Linked DNA regions of Homo sapiens: region 1 is linked to region 2. Evidence: promoter capture Hi-C in 16 types of primary human blood cells and fetal thymus (Javierre and others, 2016). All regions are on one chromosome and are shown on one strand. Each heading gives the region's core, a stretch centred on a gene start or on the middle of the fragment in contact. The rest is flanking DNA. Distances are from core to core; before and after follow the strand shown. Region 1 holds the start of PCDHB1 (protocadherin beta 1). Region 2 holds the start of PCDHB16 (protocadherin beta 16).

Region 1 (5,547 bases), core at 3,042-5,541, 130 kb before region 2:
ATGTTCATCCATGTTGTGACAAATTGCAGGATTTCCTTCTTTGTGAAGGCTGAAGAATATTCCATTATGTACATATACTACATTTTCTTTATTCATTTACCCACCGATGGGCACTTAGGCTGATTCCATATCTCAGCTATTGTGAGTAATATTGCAATGAACATGGGAGTGCTGATATCTCTTCAACATACTGATTTCATTTCCTTTGAAAATATCCCCAGTAGTGGGATTGCTGGATTCTATGGTAGATCTATTTTTAATTTTTTGAGGACCTTCTATACTGTTTTTCATAATGGTGTGACCTCATTTATACGTGGAATCTTAAAAAGTTGACCTCATAGAACTAGAGAGTAGAATGGTGGTTGCCAGGGGCTGGGATGAGGAAGGAGAGGTTGGAGAGCCAAAAGGATACAAAATTTCAGTTAGGAGAAATAAGTTCAAAAGATCTATTATTCAACATGGTGGCTATAGTTAATAACAATGTACCATATTCTTGAAAAATGCCCAAGACATGGATGGTAAATATTCTCACCACAAAAATAATAACTACGTGAGGTAATATATATGTTAATTAGCTGAATTTAGTCATTCTACAATATAAATATGCTACAAAATACTATGTTGTCTATGATTAATTTTATCTGTCAGTTAAAAATAAACTAACAAAAAAAAAGAAAATAAAAAAAGAAAAGCAGCATTGCTTAAACTTCACCTCATAAGAATTTTTTTTGTTTTGAGACAGATACTGACTCTGTCACCCAGGCTGGAGTGCAGTGGTACAGTCATAGCTCACTGTAACCTCAAGTTCCTGACCTCAAGCAATGCTCTCCCCTCAAGTAACTGGGACTACAGGCTTTGTCACCATGCCTTATTTATGTATGTATGTATGTAGAGACAAGGGTCTTGCTATGTTACCCAGGCTGGTCTCAAACTCCTGGCCTCAAGTGATCTTCCTGCCTCAGCCTCCTAAAGTACTAGGATCACAAGCATGAGCCACCACACCCAGCCAAGAATGTATTTGTTAACTTACAATTTTTTTGATGAATTATTTTGAAATTGATTGTATTAAGACTTCCTAGGATGTCAGAAGCTTCTGCATAATTTGTGAATCACTAAATAAATATTTCCTTTTAAAAAAAACCTCCCCAATAGCCTTTTTGATGATGCTAAATAACATTAGTGGGTAGTATACTCCATTTTTTTTTTCTATCGAAATTGCTCAAGGCTATTCTCTGTTTATGTATATTGACTAAGCATAAACATCTTTTTTAATATATTCAGGACTCATAGAACATAAAGAAGTAATAGAAATTAATAGAAAAAAAGGTAAACAATGCAATGTTAAAAAAAGGCAAGAGAACTGAACAAAAACTTCCCAAAAAATGATATTCCAATGACTACAAATATATTAAATAGTGTCTACTTCATCAATAATTAATGAGAAATGCAAATTAATCAGTGAAATGTAAACACAGTCACTCACCAGAATGGTCAAAATTTTAAAAGACTAGTAATTCTAAGTGTTGGAAATAATTTGAGCAACTAGAAGTTGCACTGCTGATGAGAGTGTAAATCAGTACAACTTTTTTTTTTTTTGGATGGCGTCTCACTCTGTGGCTCAGGCTGGAGTGCAATGGCGCGATCTCTGCTCACTGCAACCTCCATCTCCTGGGTTGAAGTGATTCTCCTGCCTCAGCCTCCTGAGTAGCTGGGATAACAGGCACGCACAACCATCCCTGGCTAATTTTTGTATTTTCAGTAGAGACGGGGTTTCACCATGTTGGTCAGGCTCATCTTGAACTCCTGACCTCATAATTGGTCTGCCTCGGCCTCTCAAAGTGTTGGGATTACAGGCGTGAGCCACCACGCCCAGCCAGTACAACTTCTTAGAAAGCAGTTTGGTGACATCACGTAAAGCTGAAAAGAACATATCCTATGATATCAATGCTACTTCTATGTATATATTCCCCCCCAAAATATGTGTATACATGTGCACAAAGTGACACGTACAATGATATGCTATGAGCAGCAGAATAATAAAATAGGTAAATGCATTTTGCTGCATTCATACTGAAAAAGACAAAAGCAGTCCACGAGAGCTAGGAGCTGGCCTGACACTCACAGCTAGGACATAGTGATCTTCTGTTGAACAAAAAATGATTTCATAGGACACCAGTATCAGACAAGGCCATACCATGACTATGATGGAGCAAGAGGAAAATGAGAGCACACCATAAGTGTGTCTAAATACAGACAAAAAAGAGTATTGTCCAATCCACAAAAATGCCCAAACATCTTTCTGTCCTGGCTAGTATTAGTCACTTCAGCTTACTTACCAATCACAGAGTTAGCCTCACCCCTTTCCTCTCACCTTCTACATAAGAATTATCAATATACTCATCATAGAGTTAACTCCACTTATGATGACATCCAATCCAGAGCACTCTGCTTCAAACCTCCCCCAAATCATCTAACACAAGACCAAATATATGTTCTTTCTAACACCGTTTCACTGAGATGCTCCATGACTCTCTATGGTGTACAGCTTCCCTTGTTATAATAAGTCAGTAAATATAACTTTGTTCAACTACAGGTGTGTGTCTGATGGTCTCTAGCTAAAGGACATTGACAATATATTGGTATTTTATACGGTAATGGAAATAAATGAACTAGAGCTAAAGATAACACCAATCTTACATTGAGCTAAAAAATGAGGGAAAGAAACAAAATTCAAAGGATTACCTACTGTACACTTTACTTGATACATAGTTTTGTTTTATTTCTACTCATACTCAAGTAAGATATATAGTTTTCAAAAGAGGCAAAACTAAACTGTTTAAGGATGCACACTTAAGCCAGGTGTTAAAATAACTGACAGAGATTGAGAGATTCATTAATTCCCTCATGTCAGGATGTAATTAATGTTCTGTACACTTTCTACTTTCATTCTTTTTTTCCTATTGGAAAATATAGTTAGATTTCCGTTAAGTGGCCATAATTTTATAGCACCTGGGACATAAAGTATTGAGCACAAATGAGAAATCAAATGTTTTAGGTAATGAGCATGAGACAGCATCAGAAGACAAGTTCTAGTTCTTACACTGCCATGAGTAGCTGTATGAATTGGGCAAGTGACTTCATCACTTCGGGCCTTAGTTTCTTCATCTGTTTTTTTTTTTTTTTAAAGTGGAGAGTGGGTGAGAAGGAGACTGGATCTCATCTTTCTGAAATGTCTTATTAAACATTCTATTATCCTATGATCATAAAGGAAACTCAACAAATATCTCCTATATTTCTATTAGGTCATTTTCAATATGTGTAAGCAATCTTATTTTATTTGCTTTAAAATCCAAAACCAAATATTTATCTTCATTTGATTTATTCATTATATTATCTGGGAAGCAGAGTAGTGTACTGATTAAGAGCATAGACTTCGGAGTCAGACAAAATTAAATTGAGTTTTATTTCTAACATTTGCTAGGTAGGGGACCTTGACATAACCTCTCCCATCTCACTTTCTTTGTCTTTTTTTTTTTTTAATAATGTCTACTCCATATAGTTGTTGCAAGTATTAAATTAAATAATGCATGTAAATCACTTGTCATAGTCTCAGTACATGGAAATCATATCCAATAAATACTACTGCCATTATAATCATAAGTGACAAGCCAGCTGCTCCCTTTGTGCACGTGTATACAGATATTTGGAGGGGGGCGGAGCGAATACGTAGAAGTAGCATGATAGCGTAGTGCAAATCAAGAGGTCAGTTGGCTTAGTCCCCTGTCAGTGTACTTACTGGACCTCAAGTTTCTGAAGGAGAATGTCTGTTCCCATTCCTTTTCCTACTGACCACTTCCTCCACATTCTCTAGCTCCCTGCCTCATATATTTGGCTTGGGCTTCGGAAGACTCTGCAGGATCCTTGTGCTTCTTTCTTGGTCTCTGGATGGACCGCAGAGTGTGCAGATGTAGCTTAAACTTGTTGCTGTTCGCCCACAGCTTCAGTGGCTCCAGACAGCTAGCAGATAGAATGACTTCAGCTTGAACGACTAATCTCATTGGCTTCTCAATTCCCAAGGACTTTTTTTCCTGAAAGGGAATTAACAGGTGAGTCTGTTGTTGCTTTGGCAACAAACTTTCAACCTCTACCTAACTCTCCGGAATGAGAACATATCTATTAATACATTCGCTAGACTGGGGAGTTGAGTCGCTCAATGCAAATTTTCTTTCAAGTGCAAAACAGCTTAATGGGCTCGGCTAGCCTTTGGTGGTGCTGCAGTTAGAGGCTAGTGAAGCGGAGAGCAGCTGTTGCAGTAACCTGTTGCAGAAAAGTGAAAGTATATCCGCAACAGTTGGCTCTGATTGCAGAGAGCGCGCTTGTGAGAACTGATGGCGGGTACGCGCAGAAAATCTTTGCAAAACAGGCAAGTGGGATCTCTTCTCATTTTTCTGTGCATATCTGTGGGGGATGCGACAACTATCCGCTATTCAGTGGCAGAGGAAATGGAGAGCGGCTCGTTTGTGGCCAACGTAGCTAAGGACCTAGGACTGGAGGTAGGGAAGCTGGCTGCGCGCGGGGCGCGGCTGGTTTCCGAGGGCAACAAAATGCATTTCCGGCTCCACCGCAAGACGGGAGATTTGTTTGTGAAGGAGAAACTGGATCGGGAGTCACTTTGTGGCAAAGCCGACCCTTGTGTTCTGCACTTTGAAGTAGTCCTGGTGGAGCCGCTGCAGTCCTTCCGGGCCGAGGTCAGGGTATTTGATATCAATGACAATGCCCCAGTTTTCCTAAACAAGGAGCCGCTTTTAAAGATTCCGGAGAGCACCCCTTTGGGTTCACGTTTTCCTCTGCAGAGCGCCCAGGATCTGGACGTGGGCCTTAACGGTCTCCAGAACTACACCCTGAGTGCCAATGGGTATTTCCACCTGCACACCCGCTTCTGCAGCCACGGGCCTAAATATGCTGAGCTGGTGCTGAACAAACCCCTGGACCGAGAGGAGCAGCCTGAAGTCAACTTGACAATTACGGCGGTGGACGGCGGGTCCCCGCCTAAGTCTGGCACAGCTCACATCCACGTGGTGGTTCTGGATGTCAACGACCACGTGCCCCAGTTCTCGCGACTGGTGTACAGAGCCCAGGTATCAGAGAACAGCCCCAATGGCTCTTTGGTGGCCACGGTGACTGCCGTGGACCTAGACGAGGGCACCAACAAAGCGATAACTTACTCTTTAGCTCAAAACCCAGAAGCAATTCTCAAGACGTTTCAGATTGACCCTCAAAATGGAGAAGTTCGACTAAGAGGACCCCTCGATTTTGAAGCCATTGAAACATACGACATTGACATTCAAGCTACAGATGGTGGAGGCCTCTCTGCCCACAGCAAAGTCCTGGTAGAAGTGGTGGATGTGAATGACAATCCTCCCGAAGTGATGGTCTCCTCTGTGTCCAGCCCACTCCCTGAAGACTCACCACCACAGACAGTAGTAGCCCTTTTCACTATCAGAGACCGGGACATTCGAGTGGGAGGAAAAGTCACCTGCTTCCTCA
Region 2 (5,710 bases), core at 2,103-4,602:
TTCTGATTCAAGTGATAGATGTGAACGACCATGCCCCAGAAGTTACCATGTCTGCATTTACCAGCCCAATACCTGAGAATGCGCCTGAAACTGTGGTTGCACTTTTCAGTGTTTCAGACCTTGATTCAGGAGAAAATGGGAAAATAAGTTGCTCCATTCAGGAGGATCTACCCTTCCTCCTGAAATCTTCTGTGGGGAACTTTTACACCCTACTAACAGAGACACCACTAGACAGAGAAAGCAGAGCCGAGTACAACGTCACTATCACCGTCACTGACTTAGGGACACCCAGGCTGACAACACATCTCAATATGACCGTGCTGGTGTCGGACGTCAATGACAACGCCCCCGCCTTCACCCAAACCTCCTACACCCTGTTCGTCCGCGAGAACAACAGCCCCGCCCTGCACATCGGCAGCGTCAGCGCCACAGACAGAGACTCGGGCACCAACGCCCAGGTCACCTACTCGCTGCTGCCGCCCCAGGATCCGCACCTGCCCCTCGCCTCCCTGGTCTCCATCAACACAGACAACGGCCACCTGTTCGCCCTCAGGTCGCTGGACTACGAGGCCCTGCAGGCGTTCGAGTTCCGGGTGGGCGCTTCAGACCGCGGCTCCCCGGCTTTGAGCAGCGAGGCGCTGGTGCGCGTGCTGGTGCTGGACGCCAACGACAACTCGCCCTTCGTGCTGTACCCGCTGCAGAATGGCTCCGCGCCCTGCACCGAGCTGGTGCCCCGGGCGGCCGAGCCGGGCTACCTGGTGACCAAGGTGGTGGCGGTGGACGGCGACTCGGGCCAGAACGCCTGGCTGTCGTACCAGCTGCTCAAGGCCACGGAGCCCGGGCTGTTCGGTGTGTGGGCGCACAATGGCGAGGTGCGCACCGCCAGGCTGCTGAGCGAGCGCGACGCGGCCAAGCAGAGGCTGGTGGTGCTGGTCAAGGACAATGGCGAGCCTCCGTGCTCGGCCACCGCCACGCTGCACGTGCTCCTGGTGGACGGCTTCTCCCAGCCCTACCTGCCGCTTCCGGAGGCTGCCCCAGCCCAGGGCCAGGCCGACTCTCTCACCGTCTACCTGGTGGTGGCGTTGGCCTCGGTGTCTTCGCTCTTCCTCTTCTCGGTGCTCCTGTTCGTGGCGGTGCTGCTGTGTAGGAGGAGCAGGGCGGCCTCGGTGGGTCGCTGCTCAGTGCCTGAGGGCCCCTTTCCAGGGCATCTGGTGGACGTGAGGGGCACCGGGAGCCTGTCTCAGAACTATCAGTACGAGGTGTGCCTGGCAGGAGGCTCAGGGACGAATGAGTTCCAGCTCCTGAAACCAGTATTACCTAATATTCAGGGCCATTCTTTTGGGCCAGAAATGGAACAAAACTCTAACTTTAGGAATGGCTTTGGTTTCAGCCTTCAGTTAAAGTAATTGATTTCATATTATATATTTTAATTTTTATGATCAATTCAAAGGAATGGTTTTCTGTCAACTTAGCATAAATTTTAAATTACACTACATTTGCCCATAGTATTTGTCTTGTTTTCACTGTTTTAAAAAATGATATCTCATCTTCTCTTCATTAGTATATCCAGTGGACTCTAATCATAATTCTTTAACAGTGCAATTTTTGTTAAAATGTACATAGTAAAATGCACAGATCTGAAGTGAAGAAATTAATGTAACTGATCTTTTTAAGCCTTTATTTTTTGATTTCTAATCTAGGTAAAATTTAGTTAAAAGTGGTGTAGAGAATGTTTTACATTTATTGCCTTTTAAATGTTTCCCCAAGTCCTAAGGGAGTTGACATATTATCCCCTTTTTTAAATATGAGAAAACTGAGGCTTAGAAAGGTAACTTGGCTGTGAGCTGTGGCTCACACCTGTAATCATAACACTTTGAGAGGCTGAGGCAAGCTGAACCCTTTGAGCTCAGTAGTTCGAGACCAGCCTGGGCAATGGGGCAAAACACTGACACTAACAAAAATACAAAAATTAGCCAGGTGTGATTGCGAACCTGTAGTCCCAGCTACTCAGGAGGCTGAGGTAAGAGGATCCCCTGAGCCCAGGAGACAGAGACTACAGTGAGCCAAGATTGTGCCATTGCACTCCAGGCTGGGTGACAGAGTGAGACCTCATTCCCCCCCACAAAAAACGATTAACTTTCTTATAATTCTGAAATAATAAAGGTAAAAATTTAAAATATAATCTAAGTCTAGCCAATATGCTATATGGTCAGGCATTAACTGATAGCATTGTTTTTCTAACTAAGGAAGTGAAATTTATGTTATTCCTACTCCTACTCCATGAACTAAACTCTCATGTGAAAATATAAGTTTTAGTTTATAGTTTGTTTATACTACTCTGCACAAATATACCCATGTTCTTATCAAAGCTCTAAGTATGCTGGGACAGATACTACAAATGAACTTTATGATGAGCGAATTAACCTGATTTATAGTCCTGTACTTTCTCTACGTGCCATATCCATTATTAAAGAAATGAGTCTAAGTAGGAAGTAGAGTTAACCTATAGTTTCATTTCTTGAATTTCTTATTCTCTTTCTTCAGTCTTTTTCAGTTAACCTACACACACACACACACACACACACACACACACACACACACACATATGTTTATAAGTGGGATGGGAGAACGGGTACGGTGATAATTAAAAGAGGTAAGGTTTCTCTTGAGATGAAAATGTTCTAAAATTGTGATGGCGGATGCACACCTCTGAATATATTAAAAGCCATTGAAATGAAAAAAGGGTGGGGGGAATCCAAAAGTGTAGCAGACCCAACCTTGAGATTTGCTTGTTTGGGAATGAATTTTCCAATAACTTGAAAGTTGTAAAAACTCACACTTCTCAGGGTTAGGTGTCAGAAAGAAAAGGAAGTAATTTATTCTTTAATAAAGCAATTGTTAAATACTCTTTAGAACTACCACTGATTGCAATTTTGCAGTGTCTACTCATAGTGTCTATATAGGTACCATGAAAAAGATGTACTTGTGAAACTGTTCTCATGTTACTTCAGAAAAATTTTGCTTCTAAGTGTGTATTCTATGTCTGGTTAAATGTTCATTGAATTTTATTTAATCATTAATCTCAACAGCATTAAACAGTCAATAACATAAATGACAGTCTTCTCTTTGTACTCCTCCCTGTACAACATCACAGAGCTCCATCTGTATACACGAAAGTCACATGAAAATAGAACTCAGTGTTTTGTATTACATAGTCTATTCAGTACATTTAGAAGTATTTTGCCTCCAATATTCAACCACAGTAAAAGACTCAGTGAGAACGCGTGGTGGCGCTGCAGGTTAAGATGACGGAAAATACAACTGCCTACGCAGCTCCAGGATCCAGCAAACCGTTTCCCAAAGCCTGGAAGCAGAAGAATAGCTGAGCCAGAGCGAACGTGAGTGTGAAACCTCTTTAAGACACCGTTGGGCTGCTTGGTTCTGACATTCTGGACTGCAAAACAGTTCTACTAGGATCCTGGGGATACATGAAGCTTCTGTGAACCAACTTTTCAAGAAAAAGCAATGGAGATTGGATGGATGCACAATCGGAGACAAAGGCAAGTCCTTGTTTTCTTTGTTTTGCTGAGCTTGTCTGGGGCGGGCGCCGAGTTGGGGTCCTATTCCGTAGTGGAAGAAACGGAGAGAGGCTCTTTTGTGGCAAATCTAGGAAAAGACCTGGGGTTGGGGTTGACAGAGATGTCCACCCGCAAGGCCAGGATCATTTCCCAGGGGAACAAACAGCATTTGCAGCTCAAGGCTCAAACTGGGGATTTGCTCATAAATGAGAAGCTAGATCGAGAGGAGCTATGCGGTCCCACTGAGCCTTGCATACTACATTTCCAAGTGTTAATGGAAAACCCTTTAGAAATATTTCAGGCTGAACTGAGGGTGATAGATATAAATGACCATTCTCCCATGTTCACTGAAAAGGAAATGATTCTAAAAATACCGGAAAACAGTCCTCTAGGAACTGAGTTCCCTCTGAATCATGCTTTGGACTTGGACGTAGGAAGCAATAATGTTCAAAACTATAAAATCAGCCCAAGCTCTCATTTCCGGGTTCTAATCCATGAATTCAGAGATGGCAGGAAATACCCTGAGCTAGTGTTGGATAAAGAGCTGGATCGGGAGGAGGAGCCTCAACTAAGATTAACCCTGACAGCGCTGGATGGTGGCTCTCCACCGCGATCTGGAACTGCTCAGGTCCGTATTGAAGTGGTGGACATCAATGATAACGCTCCTGAGTTTGAGCAGCCCATCTACAAAGTGCAGATTCCAGAGAACAGTCCTCTTGGCTCCCTGGTTGCCACCGTCTCCGCCAGGGATTTAGACGGCGGAGCCAATGGAAAAATATCATACACACTCTTTCAGCCTTCGGAGGATATTAGTAAAACTTTGGAGGTAAATCCTATGACAGGGGAAGTTCGACTGAGAAAGCAAGTAGATTTCGAAATGGTTACGTCTTATGAAGTGCGCATCAAAGCCACAGATGGGGGAGGTCTTTCAGGAAAGTGCACTCTTCTCCTGCAGGTGGTGGACGTGAATGACAATCCCCCACAGGTGACCATGTCTGCACTCACCAGCCCCATCCCAGAGAACTCGCCTGAGATAGTAGTTGCTGTTTTCAGCGTTTCAGATCCTGACTCCGGAAACAATGGGAAGACGATTTCCTCCATCCAGGAAGACCTTCCCTTTCTTCTAAAACCTTCAGTCAAGAACTTTTACACCTTGGTAACGGAGAGAGCACTCGACAGAGAAGCAAGAGCTGAATATAATATCACCCTCACCGTCACAGATATGGGGACTCCAAGGCTGAAAACGGAGCACAACATAACAGTGCAGATATCAGATGTCAATGATAACGCCCCCACTTTCACCCAAACCTCCTACACCCTGTTCGTCCGCGAGAACAACAGCCCCGCCCTGCACATCGGCAGCGTCAGCGCCACAGACAGAGACTCGGGCACCAACGCCCAGGTCACCTACTCGCTGCTGCCGCCCCAAGACCCGCACCTGCCCCTCGCCTCCCTGGTCTCCATCAACGCGGACAACGGCCACCTGTTCGCCCTCAGGTCGCTGGACTACGAGGCCCTGCAGGCTTTCGAGTTCCGCGTGGGCGCCACAGACCGCGGCTCCCCCGCGCTGAGCAGAGAGGCGCTGGTGCGCGTGCTGGTGCTGGACGCCAACGACAACTCGCCCTTCGTGCTGTACCCGCTGCAGAACGGCTCCGCGCCCTGCACTGAGCTGGTGCCCCGGGCGGCCGAGCCGGGCTACCTGGTGACCAAGGTGGTGGCGGTGGACGGCGACTCGGGCCAGAATGCCTGGCTGTCGTACCAGCTGCTCAAGGCCACGGAGCCCGGGCTGTTCGGTGTGTGGGCGCACAATGGCGAGGTGCGCACCGCCAGGCTGCTGAGCGAGCGCGACGCAGCCAAGCAGAGGCTGGTGGTGCTGGTCAAGGACAATGGCGAGCCTCCGCGCTCGGCCACCGCCACGCTGCACGTGCTCCTGGTGGACGGCTTCTCCCAGCCCTTCCTGCCGCTCCCAGAGGCGGCCCCCGGCCAGACCCAGGCCAACTCGCTCACTGTCTACCTGGTGGTGGCGTTGGCCTCGGTGTCGTCGCTCTTCCTCTTTTCGGTGCTCCTGTTCGTGGCGGTGCGGCTGTGCAGGAGGAGCAGGGCGGCCTCGGTGGGCCGCTGCTCGATGCCTG

The links. The method cuts DNA at HindIII sites, captures the fragments that hold promoters and counts their contacts. A CHiCAGO score of 5 or more calls a contact.
Region 1: a contact is called between the fragment with the promoter of PCDHB1 here and the fragment with the promoter of PCDHB16 in region 2, in 3 of 17 cell types (M2 macrophages, neutrophils and M1 macrophages). The highest score is 6.1, in M2 macrophages.

The regions. Positions count from the first base shown.
Region 1 is chr5:141,047,083-141,052,629 of GRCh38, forward strand. PCDHB1 (protocadherin beta 1) reads left to right here and starts at 4,292. Exons shown (of 1, transcript NM_013340.4): 1 at 4,292-5,547. The coding sequence starts at 4,389. It overlaps PCDHB1-AS1 (PCDHB1 antisense RNA 1), which reads right to left. Exons shown (of 4, transcript NR_105056.2): 3 at 3,797-4,088. It also overlaps PCDHB@. RefSeq lists an enhancer at 3,873-4,701. The HindIII fragment of the contact is 4,524 bases long and covers 1,089-5,547 here.
Region 2 is chr5:141,179,035-141,184,744 of GRCh38, forward strand. It overlaps PCDHB16 (protocadherin beta 16), which reads left to right and starts at 3,353. Exons shown (of 1, transcript NM_020957.4): 1 at 3,353-5,710. The coding sequence starts at 3,526. It overlaps PCDHB8 (protocadherin beta 8), which reads left to right. Exons shown (of 1, transcript NM_019120.5): 1 at 1-1,505. The coding sequence ends at 1,406. It also overlaps PCDHB@. The HindIII fragment of the contact is 3,641 bases long and covers 1-3,492 here.